Regions from separate parts of the Homo sapiens genome. Here region 2 is linked to region 1. The links are contacts of gene promoters, found by promoter capture Hi-C in blood cells and fetal thymus (Javierre and others, 2016). All regions are on one chromosome and are shown on one strand. The core of a region is centred on a gene start or on the middle of the fragment in contact, and the rest is flanking DNA. Distances in the headings are between cores, read along the strand shown.

Region 1 (4,255 bases), core at 607-3,106:
GCAACCTCCACCTCCTGGGTTCAAGCTATTCTCCTGCCCCAGCCTCCTGAGCAGTGGGATTACAGGCACCCGCCACCATGCCCGGCTAATTTTTTATATTTTTAGTAAAGATGGGGTTTCACCATGTTAGCCAGGATGGTCTCGATCTCCTGACCTTGTGATCCACCCGCCTCGGCCTCCCAAAGTGCTGGGATTACAGGCGTGAGCCACTGCGCCCAGCCATAATTTTTGTACTTTAGTAGAGTCAGGGTTTTGCCATATTGGTCAGGCTGGTCTCGAACTCCTGACCTCAGATAAGCCATCCGCCTCGGCCTCCCAAAGTGGTGGGATTATAGGTGTGAGCCACCATGCCTGGCTGCAGCCTTTTTTTTTCTTTTTCTTTCTTTTTTTTTTTTGAGACAGAGTCTCGCTCTGTCCCCCAGGCTGGAGTGCGGTGGTGCGATCTTGCTCACTGCAAGCTCCGCCTCCGGGTTCACGCCATTCTCCCGCCTCAGCCTCCTGAGTAGCCGGGACTACAGGCGCCTGCCACCACGCCTGGCTAATTTTTTGTGTTTTTAGTAGAGACAGGGTTTCCCTGTGGTAGCCAGGATGGTCTCGATTTCCTGATCTTGTGATCCACCTGCCTCGGCCTCGCAAAGTTCTGGGATTACAGGCGTGAGCCACCGTGCCCGGCCCCAGGCTGGTAATTTTTTATTTTTTGTAGAGGCAGGGTTTCTTTGTTGCTCTGTGTGGACAGAAAGCTTAGTTTGTTTCTCTGATGGTTAGTCCCCCACAGAATTTTAACGTGATTCTGTGTTGATGACACTTTCTGTTGCATGAGACAATATTCCAGATCTCTCTGGGTCCCTCCTGGATTCAAGGCATCCTCCTGCCTCGGCCTCCCGAGTAGCTGGGACCACAGGTATGTGTCACAGCCCAAGGCCTCCAGCACAAGCCTTATTCTCCCATCCCCAGACTCAGGAGGCCATGCAGCCACACACCGGGGGAGGGTTCCAGACGTCACTGTGGGACGGGAGTGACACCAACAGGGCAGGGAGGGCCAGGACATTGGCTCATGCTGGCCGGTGGCCTCTCGGGATTGGCCACACGTGCTCAACCCATGGGAATCTCACTCAAGGGTCTGATGGGCCTGCTCCTCCTGTTTACGCCAAAGTCCAGAAGGCCTCCGGGGGCGAGTGGGAGGACGCAGAGTGGGTGAGCGGAGCTACCTTCCTCACCGCGGTCCATGTGGAAGCCAGGGCAGGGGAGGGGCCTGCCCACTGCACCCACCCCCAGCACCCCACCCCGTGGCTGCCACATCTCACCTCTGGACAATTTTCTTGGCCCATCCTTGGGAGTTTTTTTTTTTTTTTTTTTTTTGAGACAGAGTCTTGCTCCTGTCACCGAGGCCAGAGTGCAGTGGCATGATCTCAGCTCAGTGCAGCCTCCGCCTCCTGGCTTCAAGCAATTCTCCTGCCTCAGCCTCCAGAGTAGCTGGGACTAAGGCGCCTGCCACGACGCCTGGCTAATTTTTGTAATTTGGTATAGATGAGTTTCACCATATTGGCCAGGCTGGTCTCAAACTCCTGACCTTGTGATCCGCCTGTCTCAGCCTCCCAAAGTGCTGGGATTACAGGTGTGAGCCACCGCGCCCAGCTGGGAGTTTATTTCTTAGATGTGTGTTAACTTCAGCTGAGGCTCCTGTGTGCCTCTGTTTCATGGCCTTCGGGTGTTGGCCGCCCTCTACTGAACGTGGTCCCTGAGGCCGCAGGGACTGTGCAAAGCCGGATGTCCAGGCCCTGGGAGTCCAATGGGGGCAGTCGATTCTATGGATGGCACATCCTCTTTGCCTGCCCTGCCCTGGGCCCTCTCTTGGCCCACTTTTCTGGGTACGTTTCAGGCCCTCATGCCCAGTTGGGGCCCTAGCATGGGTCAGGCCCTCCGCCTGGTGTCGCCTTCTTGCCCGGGCTGAGTCTTTGGTTTCTTTCTTTGTGGGTTCAATGTCGAACGCTTTGCGTCAGTGGGACTTCTGCAGGACCTGGGCGGCGCAGGTGTCCGGAAGATGGGACAGGTTTCTGTTCCGATGGCGCCTCTCTCCCCTTCCTCCCGCCCGGCAGTACTTAGGTTCTTCCTTCAGAAAGGATTTCCCCATGACTTGAAGAGCAGGCTCTCGCACGCAGGCCCGAAACCTGCTCAGCCTCCCCGTGGCCCTGAGCCTGTCTATTGAAGGCCCCGCCTCACCCGCCAGCGGCTCCTGTCCTCTCGCCTTGCTCTGAGCCTTTGCCTCGTGGCACTCACTGGCACCGTGGTTTTGCTGCCGGAATTCAGGTGGGATCTTGCGTCCCTGTGAGCTCATGGCTTGGTCTGTGGTCCCTTTGGTCCTCCTCAGGTCCTCACAGCCTCTGGTGGGGCTTGCAGGTCTAGCCCTCTGGGCGGGGCCTCACCTCGCATCTCCTCGCCAGGAGATCCAGAAGGGTGGCTGCTCGCTCATCCTTGTGTAGCTGAGGAGGCTGCTGCTTTGTCCCTGAAGTAGACATTTCTCCTTAACTGAATGATTCTTAATTTATTGCCTCATCTACATAAATAGTTGAGAATGACGTAAAGGAGGAAAGGACTTAGAACTGTCCAGGCCTCAGGGAAGAGCTGGCCTTGAACGTCCATGAGCTCTGCCAGCCAGTGACACCAGTCCCATCCCCAGGAGCCCCCACGGCCTCACCCCCGGCTGTGTCTTGCTCAGGGATGTGCAGGGAGGGTGATCCCTGTGCCCACCATGAAGCTGCCACTGGACCCCTGCACCCTGACCCCGGTTCCTCTCCGTGAGCCGGTCCCTGCACCTGCCCCTCTGCATGTGGCTGCACACAACAAGGTCAGGCCGTCTTGAGCTCTTTTTTTTCTTTTCTTTTTGAGACGGTGTCTTGCTCTTGTTGCCCAGGCTGGAGTGCAGTGTCACGATCTCAGCTCACTGCAAGCTCCGCCTCCCAGGTTCAAGCTTCTCCTGCCTCAGCCTCCCGAGTAGCTGGGATTACAGGTGTGAGCCACCGCGCCCGGCCTTTTTTTTTTTTTTTTTTTTTTTTGTTGTTGTTGTTGTTTTCCAGAAGGAGTTTTACTCTGTCGCCCAGGCCGAAGTGCCGTGGTGTGATCTCGGCTCACTGCAACCTCCGCCGCCCGGGTTGAAGCAACTCTCGTGCCTCAGCCTCCTGAGTAGCTGTAGCTGAGATTACAGGTGTGTGCCGCCCCACCTGGCTAACTTTTGTATTTTTAGTAGAGACGGGGTTTCACCATCTTGGCCAGGCTGGTCTCAAACACCTGACCTCAGGTGATCCACCCGCCTCGGCCTCTCGATGTGCTGGGATGACAGGTGTGAGTCGCCACGCCCGGCCTCCTAGAATGCTGGGATGACAGGCGTGAGCCGCCGCACCCGGCCTCGAGCTCTTCTTTCCGCAGACTTTGATTCTCAGCGGCTGAAGGACTAAGTTCCCCAGAGATGGACCCGGGTGTCATAGCTGCTTCCAGGGGCCTCGGGGACACAGGCGGGACTCCAATGTGCAGGAGGAGACACACGTCAGGGGTGGGTGTGTGACTTCCACGCTGCTGACAGTGACCCAAGGATGCAGCTCAGGGTCAGATGCCGTTAGATCAACCACTTCAATGTATTATAAAACTATTATAAAAACTATTTTTGCTACCCAGGAAGGTAGCTGAGTTCACTTAGAATTCCTGTCAGCTAGGCTGTTTATCTGAAAGTGGTTACTTGTCCCTGACCATCTGGAATGGCTCAAATGAGCTCCTGCAGACCACAGAGCTCATCTTTGGGAACCCAGTCTCTCTTTTTGGGGAAGTGAGCCCCTTCCTTGGGAACCCCTGAGGCCAGGCATGGCCACTGTGGATGGTGGGAGGATGCCCCACCCTGAGGACCCCAGAGGCTCCTGTGGCCCCTTCCTGGGACTGCTGGGGCCGGTGTGTGTCAGCGTTCACCCCAAGGCCCCCTTTCAGCTGGGCTGGACGCCAAGTGCCTTCAGGCCTCATCCTGCCCTCCACCATCCCATAGTCAGTGAGGCTGTGGCATCTCCCTCCTCGACTGTCTTGCCCTCTTGGTTTTTGTATCAGCGTTTTCCAGGCTGATTGCTGCTGAACCTTCTGTTTTTTTTTCTTTTTCTTTTTGAGACAGTCTTGCTCTGTTGACCAGGCTGGAGTGCAGTGGCATGATCTTGGCTCACTGCAACCTCAGCCTCCCGATTAGCTGGGATTGCAGGCATGTGCCACTATGTCCGTCTAA
Region 2 (4,255 bases), core at 440-2,939, 170 kb after region 1:
ATTGGGTACAGGGACCCCAACAGAGTGGTCTTCCTCACTTCACCTCCCTGAAATTACTTCCTGAGAGGGGGAAGGACACCCTGGTTCATCCTGCTCCTCAAGACTTTCTCAGACTGAAATGTCCACATCCCGTTTCTTCTACCAGTCCCTAACTCAGGGGAGGTACTTATATCTGCACGTCAATGCCTCAGAAGCCTGAAGGCCAAGGTTGCCAGCCCAGGTTATTTCTGGTTCTCTGGTTCTTCTCAACATGCTCACCTGTTCTCTGATGGATTCTTTGCATCTCCCTGGACCCCAGCCGGGTGAAGACAAACACAGGGGCACCAAGGTGAGGGCTGCTCTGGAGGCACCAGTCTGCTCATTTACGGCCAAATCCACTAGGGGAAGCTGTGCAGCAGGGGTGAAGGGCGGGCCCGCAAATAACGTTCGTAAACCTTCCTGCTTGGAGTCCCAAGTAGCCCCTCTGAGGGGTAACGTAGAGTCATCTGGGGACCTCAGTTGTAGAGGTGGGCCTGGAGCCTGAACTTTATGTCCTCACACTGGCCTATCCTACCTGTCACTCACTGCTTAGCCAGGCTGGGCCCGGCAGATGACCTGGCCTTTCCACTTCCTGCTAAGCGTCCCTGGAAGACCCTCCTGCAAGGCAAGTCTCCGAGCAGGCCCAGCAGGCTCTGCTCCACACCCCTCTCCCACCAGGCGCCCCTGCAAGTCCATGCTGGGGTCTCTATATTAGCCAACCTCACGGAGGTCAAAGGGGCCTGTCTGGAGTAGAAAGGTGAAGCTACACGTTGGCAGCGCCTACTCTGGGGAGCATCATTAGGGGCTCAGCCAAACCCAATCCACCAGAGAGGCTGCTTTTAGTTCTCAGACAAAAAGTGTGAGTCTGATTTTTATTTTATTTATTTATTTATTTTTTTGAGACAGGATCTATGTCACCCAGACTGGAGTGCAGTGGTGCGATCTCGGCTCACCGCAACCTCTGCCTCCTGGGCGCAAGCGATTCTCTTGCCTCAGCCTCCCGAGTAGCTGGGATTACAGGCGCCTGCCACCACGCTAGGCTAATTTTTGTAGTTTTAGTAGAGACGGGGTTTCACCATGTTGGCCATGCTGGTCTCGAACTCCTGACCTCAGGTGATCCACCAGCCTCGGCCTCCCAAAGTGCTGGGATTACAGGCCTGAGCCACCGCGCCCAGCCTGCGTCTTATTTTTTTTTTTTTAACCCCAGGAATGAGGAGTCGGGGAGGCCCGGTACCGCAGGCTCAGTGCTTATTCCGGGTCCTTGGTCTCTAGCAAAAACGGGGGAAATAGCTCTAGACGCTTCCGCCTTCCACGTAACTCCACTTCCGTTGCCAGATACGTCACTTCCGTAGTCTTGAGCCCGCACTTCCGTCGGCCCGTTGGGAATCCGGCCCCTGGGTGGTCCGGAAACGATTCTGGACCTGCGGGTATATCCAGGGCCCGCACCCCCTGGGATTGTGGGAAATGTAGTTTTTTGCCTCCGTAAGGGACCAGGCGGAGCTGAGGAACCGCGCGAGGACTGGGACCGTGATTCCACTAACCGGAAACCGTCGCCTTTCGGGCCCGGCGGGGCCTGAGCCAATGCAGAATCGGGGGCCGCGAGGACGCCAGCGGGCGCTGTGCGTAGGAACCGCCGGGTGGCCGCTGCCGATCGGGGCCGACTTGGGGACGGACCGGAAGTGCCCGAGGGCGGCCGCAGAACGGTCAATTTGAGCCGCGTCGAGGTCGGGCTTGGGAAGGGTCAGCGGGAGGCCTGAGGGCGCCGGGCGCTGCGGCAGGCGGGCCCGGGGTCCAGCCGAGAGGGTCCGGGCGCCAGGCAACGCGATTCGCGCGGGGGTGAACCCGGGGAGGGGGCCGGCCTCCCCGTTCTGGGACCTTTCGGTGCGTCCGAGCGCGACACCGCCCGCGTCGGGGGCTTGGGAGCCTCGGGGCGCGAGCTGTGTTGGAAGCAAAGTCCTCCTTGTGGGTTGGGGTGGCGGAGGGAGAAGGGAAGCGAGGGTCGCGGCGGGACCAGACGCCCCAGTCCCGGCCCGCCCGCGACTACTGAAGGCGCTGCCGCCTGACCTGAACGGGCACTTGTGTTCCAGCTCCCCTGGGACCTGTGGCCGCCGCCCACAGACCATGCTCCTGGGGCGCCTGACTTCCCAGCTGTTGAGGGCCGTTCCTTGGGCAGGTAGGAAGCCGCGCGGGGGCGGATGGGAGGATGCACACCTGGTTAGGAGTGCGGGTCTCAGCAGCTCCGCTGGGGCAGGGCCGGTGGCCACACACACACTCTTTCCCCTCTAAGCTTCCGATGCTCACAGAGGGAACCTCAGGGGTTCAGGCCAGGAATGAGGTGCGGGGGATCCTCGCTGGGACGAACCTGCTGCTCCTCAACCCGACGGGCCTGTGTGGTCTCGCGAGCGGTGACCGTGGCGTCTGGTTTTCTGCAGGCGGCCGCCCGCCTTGGCCCGTCTCTGGAGTGCTGGGCAGCCGGGTCTGCGGGCCCCTTTACAGCACATCGCCGGCCGGCCCAGGTAGGGCGGCCTCTCTCCCTCGCAAGGGGGCCCAGCTGGAGCTGGAGGAGATGCTGGTCCCCAGGAAGATGTCCGTCAGCCCCCTGGAGAGCTGGCTCACGGCCCGCTGCTTCCTGCCCAGACTGGATACCGGGACCGCAGGGACTGTGGCTCCACCGCAATCCTACCAGTGTCCGCCCAGCCAGATAGGGGAAGGGGCCGAGCAGGGGGATGAAGGCGTCGCGGATGCGCCTCAAATTCAGTGCAAAAACGTGCTGAAGATCCGCCGGCGGAAGATGAACCACCACAAGTACCGGAAGCTGGTGAAGAAGACGCGGTTCCTGCGGAGGAAGGTCCAGGAGGGACGCCTGAGACGCAAGCAGGTGAGTGGCCCCCTGCTTGGCCCTGGGAGGGCAAAGTGCTGAGAACACGTTTCTTTGCCACGAATTACTTGGCGGTCCCTCTCTCTGCGTCTTGCAGATCAAGTTCGAGAAAGACCTGAGGCGCATCTGGCTGAAGGCGGGGCTAAAGGAAGCCCCCGAAGGCTGGCAGACCCCCAAGATCTACCTGCGGGGCAAATGAGTCTGGCGCCGCCCTTCCCGCCCGTTGCTGCTGTGATCCGTAGTAATAAATTCTCAGAGGACTCAGCCTTTCCTGCGGGTCTGGAGCTCCATTTGCCGGGTGTGAGGTCTCTCAGGATTGAGGCTGCTGCCAGTCCCAGGTGTTGCAGAAGACCCGGGCAGCAGGGTGGCAGATTGGCCGTCCCTCTCTCTAGCTGGCTCTTGGCCGCCGTCCAGAGGGTGCTGGGCCTGTAGGAGCCCCAGCCTCGCTGTGAGCAAATGTGTGCTGTGTGCAGTTCAGGCTAGGTGCTGTGGGATCACTGTGAACAGATCCCACAGCCCCTCCCTGAGCACCACATTCCCTGGGGAGGCCGACCCGGATGGCAGAAGTACAGGGGGACAGGACTGGGGTTTAGGGAGCACCCGGAATGCACGGGGTGATTCAGGTGTATTTCATGAGTGGAGGGTCGGGGAGGGCCTCATTGGGAAGGCAGGAAAGGTTCTGGTACCACTGGCAGTGGTGGATGGTGCCCGCCAGGCTCCGTGGACGTGATCCTCCAGTGGCCCTCCAAGCTTTCCGGCTACAGGGCCAGGGTGTTGGCCTTCCCAGGCATGTCTGCCATCTCCTGGGGCCCTGAGTGGACGTGGGGACTAAGCAGGAAGAGTTGTCCCAGAAGGGGTTCGGGGCTGGGGGGTGGCTGAGGAAAGGGTCTCGTTTACAGGGCCGAAGAATCCCTGAGGCTTAGGTTGAGCCAGAGGCCCCTGGTGTCTCCACGTTCCTCTGGGTGAAGAGGAGGAACGCATTATTCCCCCCCCCTTTTTTTTTGAGGAAGAGTCTCATTCCATCACCCAGGCTGGAGTGCAGTGGTGCGATCTCAGCTCACTGCAGCCTCTCCCTCCCAGGTTCCAGTGACTCTCCTGCCTCAGCCTCCTGAATAGCTGGGATTACAGGTGCCCGCCACCAAGCCCGGCTAATTTTTGTATTTTTGTTAGAGACAGGGTTTCACCATGTTGGCCAGGATGGTCTCGATTTCCTGACCTCAAGTGATCTGCCCGCCTCAGCCTCCCAAAGTGCTGGGATTACAGGCGTGAGCCCCTGCGCCTGGCTGGAACATGGTATTCCTAAGAGCAGGGATGTGCAGGGGCCCTTGGACTTGGGTAGCAGGGCATGGGTGGGCACTG

The links. Contacts are between HindIII fragments. The CHiCAGO score rates a contact against its expected background, and 5 or more counts as called.
Region 2: the fragment with the promoter of AURKAIP1 here is called in contact with a fragment that was not itself captured in region 1 in 2 of 17 cell types (endothelial precursors and megakaryocytes); the score reaches 5.3 in endothelial precursors.

The regions. Positions count from the first base shown.
Region 1 is chr1:1,545,659-1,549,913 of GRCh38, reverse strand. All of the region lies in intron 2 of SSU72 (SSU72 homolog, RNA polymerase II CTD phosphatase), which reads left to right. Among named protein-coding and RNA genes, the nearest start is that of TMEM240, 7.2 kb to the right of the region's middle. The HindIII fragment of the contact is 2,228 bases long and covers 743-2,970 here.
Region 2 is chr1:1,372,641-1,376,895 of GRCh38, reverse strand. AURKAIP1 (aurora kinase A interacting protein 1) reads left to right here and starts at 1,689. Exons shown (of 4, transcript NM_017900.3): 1 at 1,689-1,742; 2 at 2,106-2,191; 3 at 2,451-2,896; 4 at 2,994-3,160. The coding sequence starts at 2,140. The coding sequence ends at 3,095. RefSeq lists silencers at 1,699-1,878, 1,899-1,948 and enhancers at 998-1,903, 4,191-4,255. The HindIII fragment of the contact is 3,347 bases long and covers 1-2,307 here.